Regions from separate parts of the Homo sapiens genome. Here region 2 is linked to region 1. The links are contacts of gene promoters, found by promoter capture Hi-C in blood cells and fetal thymus (Javierre and others, 2016). All regions are on one chromosome and are shown on one strand. The core of a region is centred on a gene start or on the middle of the fragment in contact, and the rest is flanking DNA. Distances in the headings are between cores, read along the strand shown. Region 1 holds the start of LINC01431 (long intergenic non-protein coding RNA 1431). Region 2 holds the start of RRBP1 (ribosome binding protein 1).

Region 1 (4,090 bases), core at 1,045-3,544:
ACTCTCTATATTTGCATTCCATGATTTGAAGAAATTGGAATGAACGCAGTTTTCACCCATGGCTCCAGCAGGCCCAGAATCGTGTTTTATGATTTTGTTTTGCATTACAAAAAGGTGGTCAGGCACGGTGGCTCACGCCTGTAATCCCAGCACTTTGGGAGGCCGAGGCGGGCCGATCACTTGAGGTCAGGAGTTGAAGACCAGCCTGGCCAACATGGTGAAACCCCGTCTCTGCTAAAATACAAAAATTAGGCCAGGTGCGGTGGCTCACACCTGTAATTCTAGCACTTTGGGAGGCTGAAGTGGGCGGATCACCTGAGGTCAGGAGTTCAAGACCAGCCTGGACAACATGGTGAAACCCTTTCCCTGCTAATAATACAAAAATTAGCTGGGCGAGGTGGTACATGCCTTTAATCCCAGCTATTCAGGAGACTGAGGCAGGAGAATCGCTTGAACATGGGAGGCAGAGGTTGCAGTGAGCGGAGATTGCACCACTGCATTCCAGCCTGGGCAACAGAGGAAAACTCTGTCTCAAAAAAACAAAACCAAATTAGCCGGGAGTGGTGACAGGCACTTGTAATCCCAGATGCTCAGGAGGCTGAGGCAGGAGAATCACTTGAACCCAGGAGATGGAGGTTGCAGTGAGCTTCGATCATGCCATTGCACTCCAGCCTGGGCAATAGAATGAGACTCCGTCTCCGATTATGTTAGCTAGCATAACATAATGCTAGCTTATCCATTCAATACTGAAAGGATTGCTTTAGTTGAGTGTCTTAATAGCTTTAAAAATAGAGGTCATAAGACTCACAGACTCTTTGTGGCAATACTAAATGATAAAGAATGAAGGGCCATGCCTGGCAAGGGTTGTCATGCACCTCTACACTTCAAGAAGAAACTATGCCTTAACTGCCACAAGGTTTTTATTCTCTGGCAGCCAAACAAGCACTGGCCTCTAGATAAGCAATATTCAAACAATGTGCTTTTCATCCACCTCCACATGCTGACTGACACGCCCCCTGCCCCAGCCCCACCACTTCCACAAATAATTACTGCTTTGATTGGACCAGAGACTGACTGCAGTAACTTTTTCCTGATGGGAAACAACCGAACAGGGGCTGATTCTGGCGGTTTACAGAGGCTGCACACAAGTGCATCGGTGTCCTGAAAAGATCTTTCAACTTATAGGGTCTAAATGTAATACATGAATACCTGTAAATGCTAAGAGTCCACCCCAAAGTAAACATAGGTCACCTGTAACATGCACGTTTGTCCAGTAAGCATGGGTCAGGACCCGTTTCATGAATATTCATAGCTCTTCCTGTGGCCTGTTCATATGTGTACTTGGCTAAGTCCTTCAGCTTAAATTCCTGTCTTAGGCCCCCTTCCCTCCAGCTGCCTGCCTTTTGAGCTTCTGCCAGAAGCTATGCTTCCCAGCCTGTCAGAAGGGCCACCTTGCAGGTTATCACCGTTTAAAGAAATAAAGCTCTCCTTTCTATGTTTGTGATCTTTTTTTTAAATAATACAAATAGACAATTCACTTGACAGTGTGAATGGCATACTTCACTGACAATGGAATACTATAAAAACAATAATAAACCACTGATAAACATCAACCTGACAAAGTTAAATATAGTGTTTCATGCTGTAGAACTCTGCACGAGAAAAGTACACGGGAGTGAACAATTGTTACGTAAGGGCGTTCACTGCAGTGCACTTACATTAGTGAAACTTTGGAAACAATCTCACCTATAAGGAGATGGCCGAAGAATTTGATATATCCAAGCACTGGATTATTATGCCGGTCATTAAAACAATGTTTAAAAATATGTGTAATAGCTTGGGGAAATGCTCACCATGTTATAATGAGTAAAGACGGTACACTATTTTACATAGGGTCTGATGTGATTTGAAAACAAATCTATAGAAATAGACTGGAAAGAAATGTATCAAATTCTAAACTGCACAAGGAAGAACACTGACGCACGCGCAACGCCGGCGCCCTGCCCACTAGGCGCCCTCGCTGCCCCTCACCTGCACAGCCGGCGCACGCCCACAGGCTCGTGAGGGAGCGGCCGGTGGGTCAGGCTGGGCGGCACTCCTCGCCCATTGGCTGTCCCGGAGTCCGGCCCCGCCTCTCCCCGCCTTCTGGAGCCGCTGGTATAGCTCCTTCCAGGGCTCCTTGGAGACGGAGGGCGGGGCTAGGGCGCCGGAGTCACGTGGTCGCGCCACCGCGCGATTACTAGCTGTCAAAAGAGTCCTCAGAAGTGTCCTGAGCGGTCGCAGGGTAATGACGTCGGCCGTATCGGGGATGCTGGAACCTGCGGTTGAGTGAGAAACCGGCGCCACCGCCTGCGTCTTGGTCTCGGGCTGGTGGCCAGCGGGGTCTGGGCGTGGTTTTACCCAGCTCCTTTGCGAAGCTGCTGTCCTTTCCTCAACGTTACCACCCGGCTGGGCAGCCTACCCTCGGTCAGTACGTCCTGGCAAGAGCGCTTCGGGCGTGGCGTTCGTGTCGCGGGGGCCTCGGCTCAGAAGCGAGGGAAGAGCAGCCCTCAGAGGAGCGGCGACCGCGCTTACCGGGAGCCCGGGTTGGGAGAGGGCTCCCCAGGAGGGGTGTGAGCTCCGAACGAGAAAGAACGCCACCGCCTCGTGGGGTCTCTTCCTAATGTGCAGATTCCAAATCTCTACAATGCTGCAAAAGAGGTTACAGTCCACATCAAATTAAGCATGCCCTAAAGGGCAGCTGGGGTTCAGTTCAAGAGTTGAGTTTTAACACACACCTTTACCTGCCTTAAAATTGGGCAAGGTATCACAACGTTAAACCATTTCTCACAAGGCTCGTTGGTGATGTTTAAGATTTTTTGTTTGTTTGTTTGTTTTTTGTTACGGAGTCTCGCTCTGTCGCCCAGACTGGAATGCAGTGGCGCGATCTTGGCTGACTACAACCTCCGCCTCCTGGGTTCAAGCGATTGTCCTGCCTCAGCTTCCTGAGTAGCTGGGATTACAGGCGCCTGCCACCACGCCCAGCTAATTTTTCTATTTTTAGTAGAAACGGGGTTTCGCCTTGTTGGCCAGGCTGGTCTTAAGTTTTGCATCCTGGCTCCCTCCTCTTACCTAGTCCCAGCCTCTTGTCTACAGGACAAAGCAACTTTCTGCAGTTTTCTGTTTGCTCTTTAGAGAGACGGGGCCCTAATTTGGCAAAGTGGTAGGGGAGACAGGGCTGGTGTTTAAGGTCGACCAAAGCAACATCTAAATCTCTGCTCTTCCCCCAAATTGTCCAAATTAGCAGCAACAGGTGTGCACCTTCCAAGCTTGCAACAGACCACATTCAGAAGCTTGATTTCTTGTTGTTCTGGGAATATCTGGATCAGAGGTAACATGGTTCACTAGGACTCCTCAGCTTCACCCAGTGTCCATTTCACCTCCCCCGGCCTTCCAATGTCTCTTCTTGCAGATTTCTCCAAGCCACTCTCCCCGTCATCTCCTCCACCCCCAGGACCCAACTCCTGCCCCTCCCACCCTAGCCCCTGTTCTCCCTGCCCACCTCCTACCCCACTGGAGTGGCCTTTCATCAAACCTAAACCAAAGAAACCAACAGACCTTGCTGTCACCACTACTCCGGGACCTGGAAGTTAAAGCGAGGGAGAGACGGTGAAACACAGAAAGCAGAACGCCTTCTGTTCTTCCACAACACAGGGTTTGTGGACGTGGCCACTATAAGAACTCGCACTGCGTGCTGATTATACTCCTCAGCACAATTCATTTCTTAAACTTTTTAGAATAATTTAAAATTTACAAAAAGTTGCAAAAATAAAAACCAGTAAACTTTTCACCTTCATCTGCCTTATAATTAAGGCAGCGGGCAGCGCGCTGGACAGAACGGGAGGGGCTTGCGCTTTCCGCCGGTGGGAAACCCCACCCGCAGGGACGAGCCGGGACCATCTGGCCCTACCTGCCGAACGGCCGCTTGGTGGAGATGTGTCCCAGAACCGAAGGAGGAGGGTGCCACGCACATTTGTCTTGCCTTCCCCGGTGGCGGGGGCATGGCAAGGGCGGAGCTTCCCGCTGTGCCCTTGGAGGCCGCCTGCAACCA
Region 2 (4,090 bases), core at 877-3,376, 5.7 Mb after region 1:
TGTGTCGGACTATGGTTCACAGTGTGGGAGACACTGCTGTGGCCCCCGACATGCCTCCAGGCACTCACCATTCTGCCAAGGGCTTCTTGCTGCAAGGCTTTCTCCAGCTTGATGGGGGCGGGGGTTAAAGTCCCCCCAGAAGAAGCTGTTAACCAATGAGGACTGGGAGTGGCTGGATAAATAACCAGGTCCTCACCCCTCAGCTGGGACGTCTCTGGGGTGTGTTCTACAGTTTCACAGCATCCCCAGAGACGCCGAGCCCTGTGTGCCCACACCAGTCACAGGCTTGATGTTGGTCCCCTTATTGGCTCCTGCTCATCCCACTTCTCCACCAATGTTTCTTATGATTATCCCCCAAATGAATGATTGAACAAACCCTACTGCCAGGATCTGCTTCCGGAAAAAGATAAACAGTGAACAGGATAAAGGAGGTCCCTGTCCCTGGACAGGCCCTTGAGGGCAGCTGGGTCTTCACTGGACCTATGTGTCATTCTAGGCTGCTTGCCCAGCTTAGCACTGTATACCGGGCACTCCACAAACACCGGTGAATGAATGAATGAATGAATGAACGAATGAATTTCCTCCCTGAAACCCAGAGGAAGGAGTGATTGTCCTAAAGGAGTATACCCATGTTCAGAAAGGTTAGATGGCCCAGCCCTGGTCAAGTAGGACTCATTGGTAGCAATTGCCAGCCAGAAGCTGGGATTCTTGACTTTCATTTGAAGCCGGGTCTCACTGCTGGAAAATGACTGAGTGTTCCAGAGTTAATCCAGGTTAATTCCTGCTGATTAATCATTAATGGGCTAAGGAACCGCCAAGATTAAAAATAGGAATGAACAGTTTAATTTCAACCCAATCGCTCTTTATTCCCCATGAAGGCTTGTATTTTTCACATCTTTCTAACAACAGCTAGTACAGTACTAGTGACAAATGGGGACAGGGAAGATTGAAAATTGTCCAAGAAATAGATGTTAGGCACGGGATTCTGCAGCAACAGGAGCTAGGGAAGTGATGGGGGGCAGTCTAGGCAGCCTTTGGTCGCTCAGAATCCAAAATTCCAAAGAAGCTGGCTTTGGCTCAAGTTCAAAGGGTTGGCTTTAAGAGACGCTGACATAATGGTTAAAAATCAAGCCTAAAATTATTTTAATTTAAAGACTTGACTAATTATGAAGACTGAGTGTTGGCTGATATTGGGGAGAAAGTCAGGGAATGAGGAAGTACCAGTTGCTCCGTTTTGTGGGACACGGATGAGTTTTCTTAGGTTAGAACCTCTCACCTTCCCCAACGCATGGAATAAAACGCCACAGAGTGGATTGTAATTATTGCTCTGCCGGCTGTGATTTGGTTGAGTATCTTAAATAGACCGTGCCTCAGTTGTACCCTCCCTAACAACGAGGGCGATGACATCCGCTTCAATTCCTCGTGCACCTTCTGGCTCTTCCACCCCAATTCCTCCATTTACTGAAGGAAATTCCTTCTGGTGCTGATTGCAATCTCTTTGATGATAAGAACTTGCTCTCCCTGGGCTGACCCCCAGCAGAGCTTGTCCTCATACCCGGCGGCCCGAGGGGGCGCTGCTTCGGGGGAAGTTAGTTGGGTTTAAATAAAGCAGCTTCCTTGGCTGTTCGCGGTTGCGCAACCCTGTTCAGCCACCGCCATGTCAGCCCAGCGGTATCCAGAGGCGCAGGCCCGGGGTCGCCGGGACCCGAACCTTCTGCTTCCCGCCTAGGCAGAGCCGGATCCTAGTCAGAGACTGCTGGGAGCGCCGCGGGCCCAGAGTGGGCGGAGCTGGCCGGAGACCCCCCCCTCGGTGGGCGGGGCGTTCCTGCTCCGCCCCGCCCCGCGCACGGCCGAGCGCCGCGCCGCTCGGCCCCGCCTCTCCCCAGCCCTGCCCCCTTCACCTCCCCGCAGCTCCTCCCCTCTCCCATTGGCCGAGGTGGAGACCCTCCTCTCTGCCCAATGGCCGCCGCCGCGGCTCGGCCACCCGCGTCCTGACTGGCCAGCGACCGGCAGAGTGGCGGGGTGCGGACCAATGGGAAGAGGCGGCTCGATGAATGGCTGGCCCGGGTGGGGAAGGCAGGAGGCGGCGATCCCGGCGGAGGGGGCCGTTCGCCAGCTCTGAGGCAGAAAGTGCCACGACTCCACACGCGCGCACGCAGCCAGCGAGCGGCCGGAGCGGACGGCAGACGGGGCGGGCGGCGTCAGGGTCGCAGCGTCTACAGCTGCTCGGGGGCGGTTTCTTGGCGGAGGCTTGGCCGGCTCCTCTCTCCCGGCTCCGCGGCGGCTGCGAAGGCGGCGGCTCCTGCCCTCTCGCTTTCCCTCTCGCGTCTCTGGCTGCAGGTAAGAAACTTGGCCGGGCCCTGCAGCGGCCGCGCGCGGGCCGGGCCGTCGGGGGGCCGGGGCCGGCCGCGCTGCGCCGCGAGTGACACGTCTCCTCGGCGGCCCCTCCCCCGGCCCGCCCGCCGCCCGCCGCCTGCCGCCGCGGCCGTGCACCATCGGGGTCGGGGTCGGACTCGGGGCGGGGGTGCCGGGCAAGCGCCGTACCGGGGCGTAGGCAGGGCGCGCCCCGTGGTGTGGACCCCGCGGCCCTCGCCGTCCGGGGAGCTGCGGCGGCAGACGGGCGCGACGTGGCGACCGCTCCCTGCCTCCCTCCCTCCCGGCAGGGCCGTCGGGCCGGCCAGCGCGCTCCGAAGTTGGGCGAAGAAAGTTGGCGGCGGGGCGGGGCGGGGCGGCGCACAGCTGGCGGAGGAAGGGGTTAAGTTTCGGGAAGCCGCCGGATGACGTTGCCGGGCTGGAGTCCGGGCCGGAGGGGTGGGGTGCGGGCGGAAGGCGGCGGAGGCCGGCCGAGGGGAGGAGGGCGGGATTGAATGGGGGCCCACGGGCCGAGCGCGCCGGTCCCGGGCCGCGGCCCGCTGGCGCTTCGCGGGGCTGGGACGGCCCCCGACGGGGCGGGCCGGGGCCGCAGGGCTCGCGGCGCAGGGACCGGGTCTGTCCATGGCACGGACGCCGGGCGGCCGCGGTGGCAACTTCCCGGAGTGCGGGAGGCGGCTCCCTGCTCCCCCTGGCGGCGGGGCCGGGGCCACCGTTTCCCCGGCTGGGCTGCGCGGAGCCTGGCTCGAGGGCTCCCGGCGGGGGGACGAGGGCGCCCGGGGCCCGGCCCGCCCCGCCCGCGGCCACGATGAATGGGCCGGCGGTGCCAGCCCCGGGCGGAAGCGGACACCTCCGGGCCGGCCAAGCGCGCTGGCACCCGGCCTGGTGCCCGCCCCGGCCCGGCCGGCTCTCCCGCTGCGCCCTGATTAGGGGAGGCAGGCCGGGGTCTGCGCTTCCAGTGGGGCGCCCGCAGTGCTTCAGGGACCCCTCTCCGAATGATAAGTCGCGAGTTTTAGCTCTAGAGTGCCCCGGCTGGCGAGGGTGACCCCGACCAAGTTGTTTCGTTCGGGGTCTCCATTTCCTGGTCTGCAAATCGGGGCTCCTGTTAGCTTCGATTTGCGAGGAAAGCTGTGGAGACCCAGCACTTGTAGGAAGGAGCCACAAGTGTTGGCTGTTCAGTTGGGATGCTTTTGTTGGGGGGTGCTGGACACGGGAGGAAGGTGGGGCCTGGCTCCGGCACTGCGGCGGGCGCGGGGCTGCAGAAGTTGCACAGCCGGGGTTCTACACCCCGGACCACGTACTGGCCGCCTACTCGCAGGTCCCATAGCCCCTCTGAATCCTAGTTTCTTATCTGTGGCCTGAAGACAGCACCACCCACTCACAGGGTCGGGAACCACGCCGGGAAGTGCTGGGACCTTGTACAAACAGAAGGCAATTTGGCAATTACTCTGAGAGGTCAGAGGTTAGGAGAGACTGGGAAGCACCAAGGAAATGAAACTCTGAGGGACCTGAGGAGCCTCCCACGTCACTGCTCAGCTATTCACTCTGCGTGCTGGAACCTTCAGGGTAGGGGCCATCTGGATGGCATTTTCAGGAATTTGGAGAAATGGGCCTGGTAGGGCCTCATATCTCACATTAGATACCTCTTCAGAACTGGGTGTCCCCAGAGACCCAGGACGTCTGTCTGGCACTCCCAGGAAGAACAACTGCGAATGTTACC

The links. The method cuts DNA at HindIII sites, captures the fragments that hold promoters and counts their contacts. A CHiCAGO score of 5 or more calls a contact.
Region 2: the fragment with the promoter of RRBP1 here is called in contact with the fragment with the promoter of LINC01431 in region 1 in 3 of 17 cell types (non-activated CD4 T cells, naive CD8 T cells and total CD8 T cells); the score reaches 9.5 in non-activated CD4 T cells.

The regions. Positions count from the first base shown.
Region 1 is chr20:23,356,331-23,360,420 of GRCh38, reverse strand. LINC01431 (long intergenic non-protein coding RNA 1431) reads left to right here and starts at 2,294. Exons shown (of 3, transcript NR_109884.1): 1 at 2,294-2,466; 2 at 3,284-3,370; 3 at 3,452-3,827. RefSeq lists a silencer at 1,959-2,148 and enhancers at 2,199-2,588, 2,779-2,868. The HindIII fragment of the contact is 4,137 bases long and covers 1-3,310 here.
Region 2 is chr20:17,680,278-17,684,367 of GRCh38, reverse strand. It overlaps RRBP1 (ribosome binding protein 1), which reads left to right and starts at 2,126. Exons shown (of 25, transcript NM_001365613.2): 1 at 2,126-2,340. RefSeq lists enhancers at 1,456-1,515, 2,769-3,441, 3,633-4,090 and silencers at 1,796-2,215, 2,446-2,775, 2,806-2,855, 2,886-3,195. The HindIII fragment of the contact is 11,518 bases long and covers 1-4,090 here.